Regions from separate parts of the Homo sapiens genome. Here region 1 is linked to region 2. The links are contacts of gene promoters, found by promoter capture Hi-C in human tissues and cell types (Jung and others, 2019). All regions are on one chromosome and are shown on one strand. Each heading gives the region's core, a stretch centred on a gene start or on the middle of the fragment in contact. The rest is flanking DNA. Distances are from core to core; before and after follow the strand shown.

Evidence for each region. Contacts are between HindIII fragments. The study calls those that stand out against the background at their distance.
Region 1: a fragment that was not itself captured here is called in contact with the fragment with the promoter of FAS in region 2 in 1 of the 25 tissues and cell types used here (H1 embryonic stem cells).

Annotation. Positions count from the first base shown.
Region 1 is chr10:89,179,392-89,183,328 of GRCh38, reverse strand. LOC105378418 (a long non-coding RNA gene) reads right to left here. Exons shown (of 4, transcript XR_946180.4): 1 at 3,925-3,937; 2 at 1,389-1,505. Among named protein-coding and RNA genes, the nearest start is that of CH25H, 26 kb to the left of the region's middle. The HindIII fragment of the contact is 3,582 bases long and covers 485-3,937 here.
Region 2 is chr10:88,989,544-88,993,428 of GRCh38, reverse strand. FAS (Fas cell surface death receptor) reads right to left here and starts at 2,631. Exons shown (of 9, transcript NM_000043.6): 1 at 2,523-2,631. The coding sequence starts at 2,552. FAS-AS1 (FAS antisense RNA 1) reads left to right here and starts at 454. Exons shown (of 1, transcript NR_028371.1): 1 at 454-2,007. It also overlaps a transcript of ACTA2 not described here. RefSeq lists enhancers at 1,696-1,775, 1,906-2,315, 2,456-2,966, 2,967-3,478. The HindIII fragment of the contact is 1,672 bases long and covers 1,580-3,251 here.

The DNA of each region.
Region 1 (3,937 bases), core at 1,026-3,525, 190 kb before region 2:
GTGTAAATTAGTCCCTTGAATTAGTCTTTGAAATGGATCAGTTATGGTATGCTTGTTTGAACAAAATAGGGAATAATCAGCTTGTTAGCCAAAATATTTGTAGATTATTGCTGAAGTCTACCATCTCATCTATCCCTCAATACTGTCAGTTTGTACTCAGAGATAGCTGCATGTGAAACTGGCACATAGGTTGTAGCAGGTTGCAGCAGTACTCTTCGCAGGCAGTGGGGGTGTGAGTGTGTGCACACTCTGATGAGGCCTGAGTGATTTTTGCCCTTTTGGAAATGCTGACTAGACTGTCATCCTGCAGCTGAGTATGAGCCTCCTGATATGATGAAAAGCAACTAACGAATAGGCTGATAGATCCATGGGAACTGGAAAATGGCAGGGAAGAGTCACAGGACAAGTTCTTTCTAAACAATTCTTGGTGTTTGTATGAAATTTGGCGTTTACCGACACCTGTCTTCCAATTCTTATAATAAATATGCTACAGATGAACAGCACATTGAACAAATCATTACGTTAAGGAGTCACTAGGAAATCAATAATTTTTCTCATCAAAGAATTGCATTATGTACTTTGCCCATTAAAATTACATTCAAATGCTTACAACATTTGTAGATACTTAAAAAAAGTAGAGAGTTGTAATATAGTCTAAAAAATATACACCAAAATTTTAAAAGAGGTAGTCTCTGGATAATAAAGTTATAATGGTTTCTTTATATGTTCTTTCCTTATATTTTCAATTTTTCAAAAAACACAAGCATATATTACTTATATATTAAAGGAAATATAAATGTTGCATAAAAACAATTTAATAATAACTGCTAATAATTGTCAACTTTATCTGCATCAAGCTCTGTGCTCAGTACTCTACACATTGTCTATTTTTAACCCCCTCCAAAGACCCTTTGAGAGTAGAACTTGGTCTGTCCACAAGGTTAATTGTCCTTAACCAATTAAGGAACAGGTTTATCTAGGTTCAGTGACTTACCTAAGTTTGAATATGTGAAATATATGGCAAAGCTGAGATTTAAAATGTGAGACAAAGCAGCAAACCTATGTTTGCTCACTTCTGCTCTCCAGCATAATTTCACACAGCCCCTGACTCTATGAGCAGCTCTATGGAAGAATGCTCTGAAGACAAAGCAGGATAGAGCACCTGGCCCCTCATGTCTCTTTCCCAAGTCACTACATCCTTAAAAGATATATAATCCTAGTCCTTGCCTTTTCCTACTCATAAGATAATGTCTGACAGAGTTAGTGACTATGCCTCTGTAATCTATAACCAGATGTACTCTTGCACCTAAACTTTAGGTGATTCTGCTTTAATGTAACTTCTGAACAAATTTGATGTAACTTCTGAACACATACTGAACTTCCACTACCTTTGTGTAAGCTGTGAGCTGGAATACTGTGTCAGAGCCGTCTGACAGAACCTCTCTGATGGGCGCTTCCAGGGCTGTAGTTCTCAACTGATAGCCCTCAAGGCTTCTGAAAACAAGCTTTAATGAATAAACACATTAATTAATTAATTAATTAATTAATAAAACATATGTTAATTTTTTAAAACATTGCTATTTTCTTTAGTCAACAGAATTCAGGTTTCTTGTGACCCTAGGGCTTTTGTCCTTGATTCTATTAATAGAATCAGAACACTTCTTCAACTCTTATTGTTGTCAAATCCTAATACCCTTTATGGGATATCTCTAAAATATCTCTCCAACATGGCAAATTCTGAATTATTTCAAGCATCAGATATTTCCTTCACATTTTACCATCTTACTCCTCTTTTTTTAAACCTAGAATATCAGGAAATTAATCTTTTGAGCAAATGACAAGAAAAATGATTCTCAGGTTCATTCTCATTTGTCAGGACTTTTTAGATAGCCTAAGAGCCTGGCTGAGAATTAATGAATGTCAGAAAATTAGGTATTTTCACAAATTTTTTATTTTGATTTTTCTTGTGAATTACGTCTCCCTTTCTAAAAGGACAGAACTCACATACTTTTGATTGAATAACAGTTCTTTGGACAAGTTCTGTTTAATGGAAGACTTATTATGTTCCCTATGGGAGAGAAGTCAATGAGATATTTATACACAAAGGTGATATTAAAAATATCTAACATCAAACACAGCACAGGTACTAAGCAATCAGAATGGTGGTCTTCCGCATTTTAGAGGCCGCTCCTAGACCTTCAGCTGATAGACAATGGAGAGTTCTAGGAGGGTGCGTGGCTAGAGGCAGAGGACAGGGCAGCCAAGGCAATGGGAAGACACTCATCGTGGGTAGGACTAGTAGTTACTTACTAAGGAGTGTGGAAGTACATTTGATTCTTGTTATTCATAATGGTATGTTCTATAAAGTTGCTATAAGCACTGAATTAGTAAATCCTGAACCATTGCTCCTAGGGGAAATATAGGGTTGGGTTCCTGAGAGCTTCTGATCACAAGATTTTTTGTCAACTGACCAATAGATAACCTTGTTTTATGTGTGTTTCTGTTTAAAACCACCTTATTTAAGACATATTATTGATTCATTAACATTAAACATGGCCAATAGCACTATAACTCATGTCTGAAGTAAGCTTTTCTAATACATGTATTTTCTCCATAAGGCACAGCATAGCCTCCTTTTATTTAGGATCACTAGAAAGCACTTTGGCATTATGCTTGGGGCGATTTTAAACAGCAAAATCACCAACAAAAACACAAAAGTGTGAAAAACGTGGCACTAAATAGACCATAGCAAGGACATGTGTTTACAGAAAGAGAGCTAATGCAAGAAGATAGAACATTGCCTTGTTTGACCTCAGCTGGGAATGTGCCCAATGGGTGACTCAAATATTTTGCTGCTCTGAGCATGTCCACAAATGACAATGAAAGTGCCATGATTATTGATTTTTGAGGTTACATATACATTTTAGCAAGTAGGAATCTGTGAAGAATGAGGATGACTGATTTCAATATTTTAAAATCCAATAAAGCCATACTTGTGTACGGAGCTAAAGATCAGCAATGGCATAGGATTCCATGGCCTTGGACAGCTTAGCTGTGCTCTGTGAAGCTGACCTTCTCCCTCGGACCTTAGACCACCATCTATGCCTCCAGTCTGGCAAATTACTCCTTCCTTTTCCCCATTTAAACTCATCTTAAAAGCCTGTCAAAAATTAAACTTCCTCCATAAGGTCACCCTTGATAATTTTATATTAACCCCCTAACTCCCATCATAAATACCACTCTAATGATATCTTGCTTCTCAGCAATGGAACTCCTTCTTCTACACCTACTCAAGGGTTACAGTAGAGTTAATTTTTGGGGACTGTGGCCTCTCATTTCATGTCTCCCTTACCCCCACCAAAATGCTCCCTTCTTCCACAGAGTTCAGTAAAATAAATTTTTAGGCAGCCATAAAATGCAAAAGCTTTTATGGGCTGCTGGGTTAAAACTTACATTCATAGATTAAAGCTTCATTGAGTTCATTTAGCCTAAAACTTTAACCCATAAATCTCTTTCTTTTCTTTTTCTTTCTTGCTTTCTTTCTTTTTTTTTTTGAGATGGAGTTTCCCTCTTGTTGCCCAGGCTGGAGTGCAATGGTGCAATCTCAGCTCACTGCAACCTCCACCTCCTGGGTTCAAGTGATTATCCTGCCTCAGCCTCCCAAGTAGCTGGGATTACAGGCATGAGCCGCCATGCCCGGCTAATTTTGGATTTTTAATAGAGACGGGGTTTCTCTATGTTGGTCAGGCTGGTCTCGAACTCTCAACCTCAGGTGATCCGCCTGCCTCGGTATCCCAAAGTGCTGGGATTACAGGCGTAAGCCACCACACCCGGTCCCATAAATCTCTTTCTTAACAGATCTAATTGAATTCTACTGCAGACTTCACAGTTCCTTAAGCTCTGAATTTTGATTTGGGTGCTTACATTGACATCTCTA
Region 2 (3,885 bases), core at 1,382-3,881:
TGAGCCTCATGGATCCACATCCCTTCAATTAGCAAGCTGGCATTTCTGAGCGAGGGACTTTCCAAAACAGGCTGCTCAAGTTTCTTGGCCAATAACAGGGTCATGCACAATAAAAAAAAAAAATGCAACCCACAGCTATTTCTCAAATTAATTTGTAAAGTAAGTTTGACTCTTTTTCTGTCTCCTTTAGAAATTTGTCAACTTTTTGGGATTTCAAACTTTTTTATTGTAAGTGTCGGAGTAAAAACACTCAGAAATAGGAAAGAGAAAACTAACACCAGGAAGGTTGAGAGAAGGAAAGAGAAAGAGAAGCAAAAGGGGTTAAGGATGGGGATACTTGTTGACTATAGTTATCACCAGAGTCAGAGGACTAGGGGAAGAGGGGAAAAGCAGAAAACAGCTCCCCACCCATCTATGTCCAGCCCATTAATAGAATTAAAATTTGCTTCTGTATTCCAAGTAATTAGCACTTTGCATCTATTTTATTTATTGCTACTACTAAGAAAACATAACCGTGAAGGCATAAAAGCAAACATTTTCTGTAGACACATGAGGTGACACAAGAGTGTTGAAACTTCTTTAAGGATAAAGGCCTGATGTTAGGCATGTCGTGAGCGCAAAACCAATTTCTGTGTAACTAAATTTAAAAGAGTCATATTAGAGGGGAGAAATGGAAGATAAACTGCAAAACGTAAACAATGATTACTTAGGTGATAGAGTTATGTCTGATCTTTGTATTTGACTCATCTGCATTTATAAATTTTATTTAATAAGCCTTAATTTCCTAGGCCATATATCATATACAAATATAAGTTATACCTAACTTATAGGTATTATAATATGTATATATACATAAATGTATGAATATTTACATATGCGTGTGTGTGTGTATTCTTTCAGAAAAGCAAAGTTTTCTTCGGGCTTTAAACACGCAGCCTCTGGTAAAGGTGCTATTGGTACAAAAGTTCAACAAGCATAGCTCCAAGCTTTGACAATTTTCTTACACTTTACTAATACTGCTGTCCAAAAACTATGAGATTTTCAAAGCAGCCAACATTGCAGTGGTGCAATGGTTAATAACAAGAGAGAGAAGAGTGTGGCCTGAGGTTGTATAAATGTTTTCTCAATCTTGAATCATTAATTTTCTCCAAGGAAGTTTCTAAAGAATCCCAAATAGTGCACACTATTTCTGAAAGGAACAGGATTTTTTTTTCTAATCATAAAATGGACCCAGACATCTCAGCCTCTTGGTGTAATCTGGATATCAGATGCAATCAGCGAACAGCCTGAGTTTTGGAATTAGATCTGAGTTCAATCCCATATCTCCCATTTACTAGCTGTGTGATCTTGGCTGAATTACTGAAGCTCTCTGAACCTCATTTCGCCATCTGTAAAATGGGGATGTGGTTATCTTCCCCACTACATGGCTCTCGTGAGAATCCGCGGAGATCACATTTGTAAACACTTCTCTCGCTATGCCTGGCACTTTGTTGGGGCCCAATAAAATAAAAATCCATGGACTCTCAGAGGCTCCGGTACTCAAATGAGCCTCCTGGATCCACGTCTCTTTGATTAGCCATCTGCAAGCTGGCATTTCTGAGCGAGGGACTTTTCAAAACAGGCTGCTCAAGTTTCTTGGCCAATAATAGGCGCCGGGTTCTGTGCGGTGGGAACGAGTACCACCAACCCCAGCAGGAGACCAAGCAGAAATCACCATGGGAGTGCAAGCTAAGAAAGGGCAAAAGAAGAAAGAGAAGGGCAGAAAAACAAAACAAAATGAAACCACTCAGGCAGCGACTTACAGTCTTAAAGAGAGAATTCCCGGAAGGGAGACAAGGCAGTTTCTTTTTCTGTGTGACAATAAAAAACGGTAAACAAGCCTCCAGAAGCTCATTCAGCCCCCATATAACTTTTTCGAGAAAGAAAAGGTGCCGTTCTTCCGAGCCCTCCGGCTTAACCACTGCTTCGGTGCTGACTTATTTCCTACGTCTGAGAACTGCCAGAAAATGAGCAATATCTGTTCTGAAGGCTGCAGGCTCTCTCCCCGCCCCCGCGGGGCGGCGCGCACTCACCCACCCGCGCCGGAGCGGACCTTTGGCTTGGCTTGTCAGGGCTTGTCCAGGAGTTCCGCTCCTCTCTCCAACCGGGGTCCCCCTCCAGCGACCCTAAAGCTTCCCAGACTTCCGCTTCAATTCCTGTCCGCACCCCACGCCCACCTCAACGTGGAGCGCAGTGGTCTCCGAGGAGCGCCGGAGCTGCCCCGCCTGCCCAGCGGGGTCAGCACTTCGCATCAAGGCCCAAGAAAAGCAAGTCCTCCAGCGTTCTGAGCACCCGGGCCTGAGGGAAGGTCCTAACAGCCCCCGGGAGCCAGTCTCCAACGCCTCCCGCAGCAGCCCGCCGCTCCCAGGTGCCCGCGTGCGCCGCTGCCGCCGCAATCCCGCACGCGTCCCGCGCCCGCCCCACTTTGCCTATCCCCGGGACTAAGACGGGGTAAGCCTCCACCCGGGCAGGAGAGGGCTCACCAGAGGTAGGAGGGTCCAGATGCCCAGCATGGTTGTTGAGCAATCCTCCGAAGTGAAAGAGCTTCCCCAACTCCGTACTGAGCGGGTCCACCAACCCGCGGGAGAAGAGGCAGCTCCGCCTGGGCAGCCAGGGCTGGCCTCAGGGTGTGTTCCGTGCCAGTGCCCGCCCCTGAGGCTCCAGCCAAGTCACTCGTAAACCGCTTCCCTCACTCCCCAGAAGCGTCTTTGAACACCTGTGTGTCACTCTTGCGCGAGATCAGAGACGAGCTCACGAAAAGCCCCGGTGGTCAGGAGGATGGGAAGGAAGCCTCGCTGGGGAACGCCCGGGTTGGGGAGGGCTCCATTGATTCAGCAACTTGGCCTGCGCGCGGGTAGGGAGGGGGAGAAGTCAGGGTGAGGAAGGAGTCAGGGTTCGTTGCACAAATGGGCATTCCTGTCCCGGGGCGTTCCTGCAGTGGCTGGCATGCTCACTTCAGGTGAGGACCTCGAGAGCCGGCCTCCTGCCCTTTCTAAAGGCTTCTGCTGTAGTTCAACCTGGGAAGTTGGGGAGGTCTTGAAGGAGAATGGAGCTCAGAGCGCAGAGGTCCTGCCTGGGTACAGGAGCCTTGGCTAATTGCTGGAGTCACTCAGAGAAAGACTTGCGGGGCATTTGACTGGGCTGTCCATGTTGTGGCTGCAACATGAGAGGCTCACAGACGTTTCTGGAATGGACAGTTAACCATATGAAAAAGTACAGATGTTGCGCCATAGGGCTCTGAAAAGGGAGGGCCCCTTAGTTTTTATTTCTCAAGAGGAAAACAAAGCTAACAACTTAAGCCAAATCGCATAGCCCCAGCTATATTAAACATTCACAATTACTTCCTGTCCTTCGTTACTCATTATTTCCTGGCCAATTTTCTTTAAAAAAAAATCTTGTAATTCTTTCGTGCTCTGGTGAACACTGTTCAAAGTCACTATTGCTTTGGAACGGTAGATAGCTCTTAGGTAGTTTAGCATGAATTTTACAGAAGGTATGTTTGGATAATGACATCATTACTGAACCTGAATTTGGATGCAGTTCCAGACTGGACACACTAAAGGTTTCAGTATTCCTTTGGCATCGTCCACCAAGCTCTGCACCTCACTCTGCAACCTCTCTCCCTTCCCAATTAGATTCAACCCATTAATAACACATTAATAACCCTTTGCTTAGCCCACTGTTCATCCTTCAGGCTTCCTCTCAGTTGACATTTTCTTCTGGAGCCTGTTTGGGCCCTCAAATCTAGGTTAGGTTACCCTCCTGAGGGCTTTCCATCACCCTGTGTTTTGCATCTGTCACTGCACTTACCACCAGTCTTGTAGGTGTTGATAGGCTTGTCTCTGT